Linked DNA regions of Homo sapiens: all the other regions are linked to region 2. The links are contacts of gene promoters, found by promoter capture Hi-C in human tissues and cell types (Jung and others, 2019). All regions are on one chromosome and are shown on one strand. Each heading gives the region's core, a stretch centred on a gene start or on the middle of the fragment in contact. The rest is flanking DNA. Distances are from core to core; before and after follow the strand shown.

Evidence for each region. The method cuts DNA at HindIII sites, captures the fragments that hold promoters and counts their contacts. A contact is called where the count stands out against the background at its distance.
Region 1: a contact is called between a fragment that was not itself captured here and the fragment with the promoter of TBX4 in region 2, in 2 of the 25 tissues and cell types used here (lymphoblastoid cells and mesenchymal stem cells).
Region 3: a contact is called between a fragment that was not itself captured here and the fragment with the promoter of TBX4 in region 2, in 1 of the 25 tissues and cell types used here (dorsolateral prefrontal cortex).

Annotation. Positions count from the first base shown.
Region 1 is chr17:60,811,909-60,816,649 of GRCh38, forward strand. All of the region lies in intron 7 of BCAS3 (BCAS3 microtubule associated cell migration factor), which reads left to right. Among named protein-coding and RNA genes, the nearest start is that of BCAS3, 140 kb to the left of the region's middle. The HindIII fragment of the contact is 3,690 bases long and covers 762-4,451 here.
Region 2 is chr17:61,449,493-61,454,140 of GRCh38, forward strand. It overlaps TBX4 (T-box transcription factor 4), which reads left to right and starts at 2,930. Exons shown (of 9, transcript NM_001321120.2): 1 at 2,930-3,085. LOC124904042 (a long non-coding RNA gene) reads right to left here. Exons shown (of 2, transcript XR_007065872.1): 2 at 3,750-4,648. RefSeq lists enhancers at 2,900-3,741, 4,542-4,648. The HindIII fragment of the contact is 13,471 bases long and covers 1-4,648 here.
Region 3 is chr17:60,694,684-60,699,146 of GRCh38, forward strand. The region is part of intron 4 of BCAS3 (BCAS3 microtubule associated cell migration factor); the gene reads left to right. It also overlaps the pseudogene RN7SL606P. Among named protein-coding and RNA genes, the nearest start is that of BCAS3, 19 kb to the left of the region's middle. The HindIII fragment of the contact is 6,409 bases long and covers 1-4,463 here.

The DNA of each region.
Region 1 (4,741 bases), core at 1,357-3,856, 640 kb before region 2:
TGGGCATGATGGCACACGCCTGTGGTCCCAGCTACTTGGGAGGCTGAGGTGGGAGGATTGCTTGAGCCTGGGAGGCAGAGGTTGCAGTGAGCCCAGATCTCACCACTGCACTCCAGCCTGGGTGACAGAGTGAGACCCAGTCTCAAAAAAAAAAAAAAAGTTCATAAGTTGTTTTCATAAGTTGTTTTATGGATGTAGACCTAATATGTCTTGTTGTTAAGTTTTTGTCTAAATGTTTGTAGTAGGTGAGCATATGGTGATGTTGAATAGAGTAGACTCTTTAGTAGCTACTGTTGGGGAGGAATACTTTTCTCTCTTAAATTCTTTGGGGAGAGGGCTGCAATTTAAACTGACGAAAGGCAGATTAGCAAGAGGACAAAAAATCAGATTTAATTACATATGTACATATAGGAGTTTGCAAAAAAATGTGACTTAAGGTGGCTTATATATCATCTCAGTAGGAGATGGGGATGGAGAGGGACACAATTTGTAGAAGGGCACATTTTGTAGAACAAATGACTTCTTAGAATGGGAGCAGAAGGAAGGGCACTTGTGACTTTTTGGAAAATTAAGGTGGTCCTTAGGAGAAAAGACAGGAGATGTGATAGTTTTGTAACAATATCTGTTTGGGAGTGGTCCTAGAAGAGATTAAGTTGCTCCAGGGGAGGAGATTTATGACAAATGAAGTTTTTTGGAGGGCTCTGCTCTGCTTTTAGGTAGATAAAGTATACTAGGAACTTGAGTGCTATCAACAATCCATGAGTCAATACATACATACATACATACATATATACATATGTACAGTTGAGTTTATGACAATTAAGTTTGTGTGTTCATTTATTTATTTTAGAGACAGAGTCTCCCTCGGTCACCCAGGCCCAGGTGCAGTGGTCCAATCATAGCTCACTATAATCTGGAACTCCTGGGCTCAAGAGATCCTCCCATCTCAGCCTCCTGAGTAGCTGGGACTATAAGTTATGCCACTGTTGGGCTAATTAAAAAAAATTTCTTTTTTTAAGAGATAAGTTCCCACGATGTTACCCAGGCTGGTCTTGAACTCCTGGCTTCAAGCAATCCTCCTATCCCAGCCTGCCAAAATGTTGCAATTACAAGTATGAGCCACCACATCTGGTCCAATCATATTATTCTTATTTTATGCATGCAGAAGCTAATAGAGGTTCAGTCACACAGTTAGTCATGGACCCAGGCTTTTGCTTGACCCTCAAGCTATGTTCTTTCCAGTAACCATACTGTTTGTCATTATGGAGGGCATTCCTCTATACATACACAGGCATATTCCGTCTATAGACTGTATTAAGAGTGCCCTAACCTCAGATTTATATATTTACAATTTTCTGACCAGTTATTTTCAGAGGTAACAAAGATTTCTTAAAAAAAAAAAAAGGAGGTTATGTTAGGAGCAATTAAGCAATTTGTTTATCCCTGCCAGAGTACCTAGGACTACAGGTGTATGCCACCTTGCCTGGCTAATCTTTGTATGTCTTCTTTTGAGAAGTGTCTGTTAATGTCTTTTGCCCACTTTTTAATGGCATTGTTTTTTGCTTGTTGAATTGTTTAAATTCGTTATAGATTCTGGATATTAGATATTTGTTGGGTGCATAGTTAGTGAATATTTGTGAATCTATAAATATTCACAAAAAATATTCACTACAGATATTCACAAACTGTGCATCCAACAAAGGTCTGTAGATTGTTTGCTCTGTTGATAGTCTCTTTTGCTGTGCAGAAGCTCTTTAATTAGTTCCCAATTGTCGATTTTGTTTTTGTTGCAATTGCTTTTGAGGACTTTGCCAAGGCCAGTGTCCAGAATGGTATTTCCTAGGTTTTCTTCTAGGATTTTTATAGTTTAGGGAGTCCTTTCCCCATTGCTTGTCATTGTCGACTTTGTTGAAGATTAGATGGTTGTAGATATATGCAGCTTTATTTCTGGGTTCTCTTTTCTGTTCCATTGGTCTCTGTATCTGTTTTTGTGCTGGCACCATGCTGTTTTGGTTACTGTAGCCTTATAGTATAGTTTGAAGTCAGGTAATATAATGTCTCAGCTTTGTTCTTTTTGCCTGGGATTGCTTTGGCTTTTCAGGCTCTTTTTTGTTCTATATGAATTTTAGAGTAGTTGTTTTTCTAATTTTGAGAAAAGTGACATTGGTAGTTTGATAGGAATAGTATTAAATCTATAGATTGCTTTGGGTAGTTTGACCATTTTAACAATATTTATTCTTCCAATCCATGAGCATAGAATGTTTTTCCATTTGTTTGTATCATCTCTGCTTTCTTTCAGCATTGTCTTGTAGTTCTCCTTATATCTTTAACCTTGTTCATTAGATGTATTTCTTGGTATTTTGTGTGTGTGTGTGTGTGTGTGTGTGTGTGTGTGTGTGCGCGCGTGCCCATTGCAAATGGGATTGCATTCTTGATTTAGCTCTCAGTTTGGACGTTATTTGTATATAGAAATGTTACTGATTTTACTACCTTTATTTTTTTTTATCCTGAAACTTACTGAAATTTTTTATTAGTTCTAGAAGCCTTTTGGTGGAGTCTTTCGGGTCTTCTAGGTATATAATCATATTGCCAGTGAAGAGAGATAATTTGGCTTTTTTCTTTTTTCCTATTTGAATGCCTTTTATTTCTTTCTCTTGCCTGATTGCTCTGGCAAACAGTAGCTTCTTAAGAGAGTCTTTGTGTTAGGCGTATATTTTGATGCAGTGTTTCTGCATAAGCAAAAGATACTTTTGTTATTTTAGTACGTTTGACGTATACCATTTAGTTACTTAGAATTTTTCAGTGTGGAAAAGGACTTCTCCAATTTTATTTTAGTATTTTTTTCTTCATTTAAACACATTGTTTAATGAATTCAAAGGAAGTCTCCTTTACATGATAGCAATAATATAAGAAGGACATGGCTATTAGAAAATTGTGGTCACTAATTTCAGGAACACTATTATTTAAAAGTCCTGTGCCTTCTAGATTCCTCAAGGATCTAGAACTAGAAATACCATTTGATCCAGCCATCCCATTACTGGATATATACCCAAAGGATTATAAATCATGCTGCTATAAAGACACATGCACGTTTATTGCAGCACTATTTACAATAGCAAATACTTGGAACTAACCCAAATGTCCATCAATGATAGACTGGATTAAGAAAATGTGGCACATATACACCATGGAATACTATGCAGCCATAAAAAAGGATGAGTTCATGTCCTTTGTAGGGACATGGATGAAGCTGGAAACCATCATTCTCAGCAAACTGTTGCAAGGACAAAAAACCAAACACTGCATGTTCTCACTCATAGGTGGGAATTGAACAATGAGAACACTTGGACACAGGAAGGGGAACATCACACACCGGGGCCTGTCATGGGGTTGGGGGAGGGGAGAGGAATAGCATTAGGAGATATACCTAATATAAATGACGAGTTAATGGGTGCAGCACACTAACATGGCGCGTGTATACGTATGTAACAAGCCTGCACGTTGTGCACATGTACCCTAGAACTTAAAGTGTAATAATAAAAAAAAAGGAAAAAAAAAAGTCCAGTGCCAACTTATGTCCAATACAAAGTAATTTCAAGAATGGGCAGATTCCTTCACCTGCTTCCAGTTTTTTAAATAAAGTAACAAAAAACAGCAGGCAACTGATGATGTAGAACAGAAGATGTAATGCTTCCAAAATAATTTAAGTTAATGAGACTCAGTTTATAGGCATAAATATAGGTGATACGAGGAACCATTCAGGGAGCCAATGAAGTCTGAAATAATGGAAAGAGTAGGAGAATACATAGTTACAAGACAGCAAATAGAATAGTGACTGCATCAAATGGAGATGGAGAAAGCCACACATAATCATGAAGTGTCTGCTTAGAGACATTCTTCAGTTTCACATGTACCTTGAGAATGTTTTCTTTATCTTGCCCATCTTTATTTCTTTCTTGGTATTAAGCGCAGTGCCCTATATCTAGGAGACCCTCGAATATATATATATTTTGCCTAAGTGAATTTTAGGAAGCTTCCTATACGAGTAGTTATACTCATCCTTTATTTTTTAGTATCACTTTTTTATGACTGAGAATATCTCTTAATCTAAGGAATCATATGTACTGTACCTGGGTATTTACATTTTCGTAGCCAGTTGGGTACAAAACCTTAGGACATCCCTCCATTTGGAGAGGAGTGGGATGTCCAGGTTGCTCTCCAGCTCCCTGGCACATACTTTATTGAACACCCATGTAGTTTAGACTTTGTCAAGTTGCTTATATTCACAACTAATACTGCCTATTAAATTATTCTTGGGAAAATTCACTAAGATTTTCTTTTGATGTATAACTTTTCTTTCTTTTTCTTTTCTTTTTTTTTTTTTTGAGACGGAGTCTTGCTCTGTCGCCAGACTGGAGTGCAGTGGCGTGATCTCAGCTCACGGCAACCTCCACCTCCCGGGTTCAAGCGATTCTCCTGCCTCAGCCTCCCTAGTAGCTGGGACTACAGGTGTGCACCACCACGCCCAGCTAATTTTTGTATTTTTAGTAGAGATGGGGTTTCACCATTTTGGCCAGGATGGTCCCGATCTCCTGACCTCGTGATCCGCCCGCCTCGGCCCCCCAAAATGCTGGGATTACAGGCGTGCACTACCGCGGCTGGCCAGCTTTTCATTTTTATAAATTCATAGTGCCTTTTCTAAGAAGAGGGGAATTGCTATGGAAAGTGTCAGTCAAAGTCA
Region 2 (4,648 bases), core at 1,680-4,179:
TTATTCTCAATTATAGCAACTTTGTCAGCACTTAGTGATAGCATATATGCTTACTCCTTTTTCCTTGATCCTAATGTGTTTTTCTACTTGTGTTTTTATTAGCTAATTCTGGTTATAAACCACCTCAAGCCTTTTGCGGAAAAGAGAAAAGTAGAATAAATTTTTAAAATACTTGGGAGCTAGCCTTTATCAACCATGCATTAATATAGGCAATCCTCACAATAAGCTAGTAGGTTGGCGTAATTATCCCCATTTTATATGAGCATTAATGAACTTGCCCAAGGTCACATAGCTGCAAAATGGTGAGCCAGGAATCAGAGCTAGGTTTCAAAACCAAGGTGAGCCTGCTACCAAACCTGAGCACTTTCCCCCAAGCCAACCCAAATCAGTGTGACCGATGTGTGGCACCGTCAGTTATTTGTTTAGCTAGTTGAGGAGGGTTTTCATATTTTGAACTCCTCAAAGTAGTTTTGGAGAAAAAAAAATTGGTCTTCTCCTCTTCTACACAGGCTCTTTTTCAGCAAATACTATGCAGCATCCATTATAAGCTTTTCTATTATTTTACATACGACTAAGAAGAAAAAACGCTGCTAATTAAGCTATGACACACCGCTAGCTATCAGATGCATCTCAGTTTCAGAGATACCAGAATGTGAAAAATGTGTGTCTTAGAGTCAGTTAAATGAGGTATTCCATTCTAATAATGGGGAATGTGCATACAGAACCGCTCTCATTTACTCACTTGCTGGCTGGTTTGCCCCTTCCTTTTTACTGCCAAAAGCTTACCTGTCCCTTCCATATCTCATTTCTCCATGTCATCATGAACCTGTTGATATTAATTTAGACTGTCTGCCATCAGTCTCCAGAAAGCCTTGCACTTATAGGAAGGTTCCAGTCTAGTTTGTTTGTTTTTGTTTGTTTGTTTTATTAAAGAACTATACGATACGATCTCAGTATGAACTTCCTCCAATGACTGTCAACAAATTCTTTCCAGAGTCTGGCCTAGCTCTAGTCTTCCCATAGTACCTGGTGATTCACTGCCCTCCCTGTTCACCATTCCACACAGTAGTTGGTTGCTTAGTCTGTATACTATTTATTTGCAAGGGATTTCCCTACAGGCTGTTGGAGAGGTCATGGGAGGGGGCTTGCGAGCAGAAGCTGAGGCATGTCATCCAGGTCTCCCTAACACAGGAAACACGACTCCCCAGGCATCTCCTGAAACGCCAGGGCCTTCCCTTTCTCCATTCCAGGAGTCCGCAGGTTTGGGGAAGGATTCTGCTCCTCCACTCCTCTTAGATATTATTTCCCCTCCCTGGTTTGAGACTCCATGAGAGGAATGGTGATAGGGTGGTGGGACCTGGTACTGCAATGGTGATAGGGACTTGAGCAGCGGCCCACTGTTGAGGTGGATTTCAGGCTCCTGACAGCAGCAGCGACTGGCTTTTCTGAGTTGGCGTTTTTGCTTCCACCTTTGAGTGCAGGGTGGTAAAGAAGGCATTGATGCTGGCTTTCCATTTCCTAGCATTAGAACAGGGACAGACCCATCCAGGAAAAGAATTTCCCTGTCCTCTCCCCTTCAAGCTGATTTTGAGGTCAGAATCTGGAAAGGGACAGAGGCTGGTTGAGGACACTGGTGGAGGGAGGGATGCAGCCCATGCTAAGCACTAAGGGACCACTCTGGGGATCCTTATTGATGAGGATTCTGCTGTCTTTGCAGATGGGTGGGCAGGCCTATTTCTGCCCCAGGATTCTGGGCATGTGACAGGCGGGGAGGCTGGGGCACGGGCTGGGGTCCGCATGGGTCCGTCTGCTAGTGGAAAGGCAGCGTCCTGTGGGAGGTACAGACAGAGAGAAACAGAGGTAAGTGGAGACAGAGAGCTCAGAGGCTGGGCAGGGAGGTCTAGGTGCTGAGCGGGACTCCGTTTCTGAGGCGGAAAGAACCGGGTGGCTGGGAGCAGGACGCTCCCCAGTCTCCACTTCCTAGACTAGGGCAGGCATTGGGCTTCCTCTTCAGCTCTCCAGGATCTCAAGGAGCTGCCGCGGAATCCTGGCCCTGGGCCGCAGTTTCCCCAGGAGGCTCTGCCAAGCCTGGCACCTTGCAGCCCGGCCTGGGCTCTGTCAAGGCCCGAGCCGGACTCGGCTCCACTCAGAGGCCGGCCCAGCACTTCCCTGCCGCCGCCGCCCCGCACCCGGCCACCGGGCTTCCTCCCAGTCCTCACCCCTGACCTCCGCGGCCGACTTCGAGGCGCGCCAGGCCGGGTCCAGCGCCCGCGGCCCCCTGGGCCGGGACAAGGAGGGCGGGTGAGCAGAAGGGCCGTGCCCAGGGCCTGGAAGTGCAAGGCCGCGTGGTGGGCATGGTAGGGAAGCGGAGCGTGGGCCTGTGAGGCGCGTGTGCGCCTGCGACCTCGGGACCGGGGCTCCCAAATGAACAGCGCGCACAGCTGGGAGCAGGGCTTGGGGAGCGGGGCTCTGCGGCCGGGGATCCGTAGAAGCCGCTGCCTGGAAGCGGGCGCCGGCAGGGGGTGGCCAGACCCGGTCGTGGAGCGTCCTAGTCTTCGGGCACGGCGGGGCCAGGCGAGCCCTCCTGGTTGTCGAGCCTCGGCTGAGAGCCGGGCTGCTCGCCCTTGCTTCCCGCCTCTCTAATCTAAACCATGCGGGGCTCCCAGCCCCTACCCGGCTCGCGGGGCCCGAGGGCCAAGAGGAGGGCACTGGGCCGCGCGGTGGAGGAGCCGGCGGCTCGCGTGGGGCTCGGGATCTTGGGGACCGCGACGCCGGGGAACCCTGGAGCCCCCCTCCCCGGGGGACAGCGGGCGCAGACTGATTGACAGCGGCGACGTCAGCGCGGAGGGGGGGCGGCCCCAGAGGGAGGGAGGGAGGAGGAGGGAATTGAGGCCCCAAAGTGCAGCCTTGGAGATCAAGGGCCCGCTCCAGAGCCGGGATGTGTCCAGCCCCGAGGGCACGGCAGGCAGCTGGACCCTGACCCAGCGGCGCGGAGTCGGAGCCCCGGCCGTCCCGCGCTCCTCGGACCCGAACCTGCAGGGGACCTCGGGCCGCTGGCGCCTCCGCATGCGGCACCGCAATTAGGGTGAGTGTGGGTTCCAGCCGAGTGGGGACGAGCTGGGCGTGCGGGGCTGGGGCCACAGGGGCTCAGGGTTAGGCTGCGGGGACGGACAGGAGGATGAGCTGGAAAGGGGTGAGTCACGCGACCCGGGGAAGAACTTCAGGGGCGGTCAAAGTTGCAGGAAGGCGGCGCGAAGTGCCTTGGGTCGGGCCGCCGCCTCGGCCCGACACCCAGTAGTTGGGGCACGAGCCCTCCTCTCTGAGTAACGCGATGAATTGGGTCTAGAGATCCAAGAGCATAGAAATATCGACAGCGCCAGCACCCTAAGAACAAGGCCGTGACAGGCGGAGCGGTGGCCTGGAAATTGGTGTTTGCAGAATATGCAAGGCCAAGGAAGAGGGCCCCGGTACTGGAGCGAAAATCCGTGTAGATATGTGAGTGATCAGAACACTAGACTCAGAGCCTTTGATGCAATAGACTAGTCAAAATTAAAGCAAGGAACATTATATATAAATAATGATCGATGATTAAAGATTATTGGAATGTGAACAATTACCAAAGAAAGGGCTAATCGGCATAACTGATATAACACGTGAACTTCCAAATAATACAATCATAGTCACTTTCAGAATCAAGTGAAAATAGTAATCACAATTTTTAAAAGGATTAAAGACAAAGTAATTCTAAATAGAGGAACAATGTAAGGACTGTTTATTAAAACCAATTGCACTAATATAACATATAGTAATAGTGTAACAAATTACCAAACTGTAGGAAACTAGCAAACGAACTGTAGGAGAAAGATGAACAATGAAAATACTATTAAGGGAAATACTATTAGTGGTAGTGATATAATAATATAATGTATTATTGATACTACAGTGAACTATTAAAAGAAATATTAACTAAAATCTTAGGAGCAATAGTAATATAAATAAAGACATATTAACAAGAATTGCTGGAGTAATATGACAATTTATGACCAATGTATTAATAGTCACAAGAACATTATAAATAATGGTTGAGTAATAAGAAGTATTGTACCAATGTGATGAAAAATAATCAGAGTATTAAGAGCTACAACAATATTACAAAGTATGACAAAATAACAAGAAGTAATGATGTGATGAGTAACTAGCGAGTTCAGATCTGTAACATTACAAATAATGACAAAGTAACAAGATACTGTCGGGGTGTGTTGAAGAATAATACCTGGAGTGTTATGAGCAAGCCTAACAAAACAAATTGTGGTTAGATAACAAGAAGTATTATAAGGATGTGAGGGAAATTAACATGAATTTTGAGAACAATTATATAACAAGTTATGGTAAACAAGAAGTTATTGAAACAGCGTGACAAAGTATAATCAAAATGAAGAGCAAGCAACGGAAACGTATTAGGGATACAAAGCAAGAATAAAAAATTACAATAGATTAACGTGACCTATTGTTCACTATGTCACCTCGATATTGGAAATAGTATTATGAATGTGCCAGGCGGCCCTGAAATGATGGAACAGTGACAGGAAAACAACAAATTTAGTAACAGTAAGCTAACGAATCAAAGCAGGGCTTTAACCATACAGTA
Region 3 (4,463 bases), core at 1,755-4,254, 750 kb before region 2:
GTGTTGCCCAGGCTGATCTTAAACTCAAGTGATCCTCCCACCTCGGTGTCCCAAAGTGCTGGGATTGCATGTGTGGGCAACAATGGCCATCATCATTTTAAAGTATATTGTCAGTATTGTTAAATAATTTACATTGTCGTACAACCAGTCTTCAGAATTCTTCATTGTGCAAAACTGAAACTCTGTACCCATTGCACAACAACTCCACAGTCTCTACCTCCTCCCAGCCCCTGGCAACCACCACTCTACTTTCTGTTTCTATGATTTTTAACTACTTTAGGGACCTCACATGGGTAGAATGATAGATTATTTGCCTTTTTGTGATTACCTATTTCACTTAACATAATGTTCTCAAGGTTCATTCATGTTGTAGCATGTGTCAGAATTTTCTTCCTTTTTAAGGCTGAATCATGCTTCATTGTATGTATATACCACATTTTTTTTTTTTTTTTTTTGAGATGGAGTCTCGCTCTGTCACCCAGGCTGGAGTGCAGTGGCGTGATCTCAGCTCACTGAAACCTCCATCTCCCAGGTTCAAGCGATTCTCCTGCCTCGGCCTCCTTAGCATCTGGGACTACAGGCGTGCGCCATCACACCTAGCTAATTTTTGTATTTTTGTAGAGACGGGGTTTCATCATGTTGGCCAGGATGGTCTCTTGACCTCGTGATCTGCCCACCTCGGCCTCCCAAAGTGTTGGGATTGCAGGTGTGAGCCACCGCGCCCAGCCCTGTACCACATTTTATTTTATTCATTCATTTATTGAAAGACATTTGTGTTGCTTCTACCTTTTGGCTTTGGGAACAATGCTGTAATGAACATGGGTGTACAAATATCTCTTCTAGTGGAATTGTTGTATCATATGGTAATTCTTTTTTAAATTTTTTGAGGAACCACCATACTGTTTTCCATAGAAGATTTAAAATTTTATTTTTAGAGACAAGTCTTGCTGTGTCATTCAGGGTGGAATGCAGTGAAATGATCACAGCTCACTGCAACTTTGAACTGCTGGGCTCATATGATCCTCCTGCCTTAGCCTCCCAAGTAGCTAGCACTATAGGCACATGCCACCATGCCCAGCTTATTTTTAAATTTTTTGTAGAGATGAGGTCTTGCTATGTTGCCCAGGCTGATCTTGAACTACTGGCCTCAAGGAATCCTCCTGCCTCAGCCTCCTAAAGTGCTGGGATACAGGCATGAGCCACTGTACTTGGGCTCATAGGGGATTTAAAAATAATCTACTCATGGATCTGGGAAAGATTGGGGCTTCATACTTTTAATCTTTGTCCACTTCTTGTCACTACTTCTTTCTGAATGTTTGCATCTCTTCTTTGACTTCTTTAACAAAGAGACAGTTGGTGCAGTGGTTACTCAAAGCTCTTTATTCATACCTTTATGATTATATGATACAATCAAAGAGGAAAAAGTATTCATTAGGAGATCCAGATGGCTCAGTCTGAGTCACTCTCCCATTATTGGAATAGTTGCTGTGGCCAAGGATGTAGTACTAGAATTGCTCAGCTGGTCATGTGCCTATCCCTGTGCTTGATGGAGGATAAGATTAGTTACCAGAATAGAGGGAGTTACAGAGTAGAAAGTGTGTGAGGTACACAAAGGTAATAGCTGCTACAGCTGGGCACAGTTGCATGCACCTGTAGTCCCAGCTGCTCAGGAGGCTGAGGTAGGAGAATCGCTCGAGTCCAGGAGTTCTGAGCTATAATGTGCTATGCCGATTGGGTGTCTGCACTAAGTTCAGCATCAATATGGTGACTTCCCAGGAGTGGGGAACTACCAGGTTGCCTAAGGAGGGGTGAACCAGCCCAGTTCAGAAACAGTTAAAACTCCCATGCTGATGAGTAGTGAAACTGCATCAGTGAACAGCCACTGCAGTCCAGCCTGGGCAACATAGTGAGACCCCATCTCTAAAAGAAAATGCTGCTATCAGCTTCTATTGCTTTAGAAGCTTGGGTCCCTTAGCTACCTGAAGATGCCTCCTAGACATCCTCACATAGATGTCCCACAGATGCCTCAAACTCTGATTTCTTTTCCCATCTAATTGTCTCTCCTTAGCAGCTGTGCACTGACCCTATTTACCTTTCAGGTCATTAAAGCCACAGAACTTTTCATGCCTCAGGATCTTTGCAAAGGGGACCCTCTAGGTGAAATGTTATTTTCTGCCCCTATCATTATTTACCTTTTAGAGTGTACAAAAATGACTTGAAAGGCTGGGCGCGGTGGCTCATGCCTGTAATCCCAGGACTTTGGGAGGCCAAGACGGGTAGATCACTTGAGCCCAGGAGTTCAAGACCAGCCTGGGCAACATGGCAAAACCCCATCTCTACAAAAAAATATTAAAAAATTAGCTGGGTATGGTGGTATGTCCCTGTAGTCCTACCTACTCGAGAGGCTGAGGTGGGAGGATTGCTTCAGCCCAGGAGGTCGAGGCTTCAGCAGGCTGTGTTTGTGTCACTGCGCTTCAGACTGGGTGACAGGGCAAGACCCTACCTCTGAATGAATGAATGAATAAATGAGGGAGGGAAGGAGGGAAGGGAGGAAGGAAAAGAAAGAAGCAGGTTTGGGAAGAAAGATTCAGTTTTGGCTGGGCGTGGTGGCTCATGCCTGTAATCCCAGTGCTTTGGGAGGCCGAGGCAGGTGGATCTCCTGAGGTCAAGAGTTCAAGACCAGCCTGGCCAACATGGTGAAACCCCGTCTCTACTAAAAATACAAAATAAATAAATAAATAACTAAAAAATAAGCTGGGCATGGTGGCAGGTGCCCGTAATCCCAGCTACTTGGGAGGCTGAGGCAAGAGAATTGCTTGAAGCCAGGAGGTGGAGGTTGCAGTGAGCTGAGATTGCACCACTGCACTCCAGCCTGGGTGACAGAGTGAGACTCTGTCTCAAAAAAAAAAAAAAAAAAAAAGATTCGGTTTCACTTTACACCTTGACTTTTGAGGTGTGAATAGAAATCCAGTATCCCTATCCTCCCACCAGTTGCAAACAGTCTTCTAAGGAGGGAGAGTATACTGAGTGCAGTCATGGAAGATTCACAGATAAGTTAAGACTGGACAAGGTTTTGAAGGATGGGTGAATCAAAGGAAGGGAGGACATTGTAGTTGGCTGAAACCATGCAAGAATGCTAGATGTCTCTATAGGAAAGACCGTAAAGTTCAGATTTAGAGGTAGAATAAGAAAAAAGAAGCCAGTAAAGAAAATAGGCCGGGTACGATGGCTCACGCCTGTAATCCCAGCACTTTGGGAGGCTGGGGCAGGCAGATCACGAGGTCAGGAGATTGAGACCATCCTGGCTAACACGGTAAAACCCCGTCTCTACTAAAAATACAAAAAATTAGCCAGGCGTGGTGACGGGCGCCTGTAGTCCCAGCTACTCGGGAGGCTGAGGCAGAAGAATGGTGTGAACCTGGGAGGCAGAGCTTGCAGTGAGCTGAGCCGAGATTGCACCGCTGCACTGGCCTGGGTGACAGAGCGAGACTCCGTCTCACAAAAAAAAAAAAAAAAAAAAAAGAGCAGCAGTGGAGAAAATAAATAGTGATTCTATGATAGAGGATATAAAATGAAAGGAAAGCCAAGGAAAAAGGATTTACTTAAATGTATAATAACTTTGAGGAATAATATAACATTTCTACAAAATTAAGGTTTTTGTTCAAGAACAATAAAGTCTGGCCAGGCCTGGTGGCTTATGCCTGTAATCCAGCACTTTGGGAGGTTGAGGCAAGAGTACTGCTTGAGCCCAGGAGTTCGAGACCAGTCTGGGCAACACAGTGAAACTCTGTCTGTATTTACAAAAAGAAATAATAATAAAAGAAATCTGCTGTATCACCACCATCCAGAGAAAGTGACTAAGTGAAATCTAAAATAAGAAAAAGGAGATTTTGTATATATTATGACCTCAGGGGTTTTATGTGTGGCATTTGAACCTGGGATCAAGATGGTACTTGTGGTAGAAAGATGATTGGATTGAGTATCAAAAAGCCCTAAGATTTCTCATTCAGTTATGAGTAAAGTATACCTAACTTGTTTTTGCCAATGATAAAATGAAGTTGACCTCTCTGCATATAAAAAAGGATTCCAGGGCCAGGCACAGTGGCTCACGCCTGTAATCCCAGCACTTTGGGAGGCTGAGGCAGGTGGATCACCTGAGGTCAGGAGTTCAAGACCAGCCTGGCCAACATGGTGAAACCCCATCTTTACTAAGTAATACAAAAATTAGCTGGGTGTGGTGGTGGGCATCTGTAATCCCAGCTGCTTGGGAGACTGAGGTGGAGAGAATTGCTTGAACCTGGGAGGCAGAGGTTGCAGTGAGCCAAGACTGCATCACTACACTCTAACCTTAGTGACAGAGCGAGACTCCGTCTCAAAGAAAACAAAAACAGAACAAAAAACAAAACAAGAACAACAAAAAAACAGGATTCCGTCTCAAAAATAAATAAAACAGAATTGATATG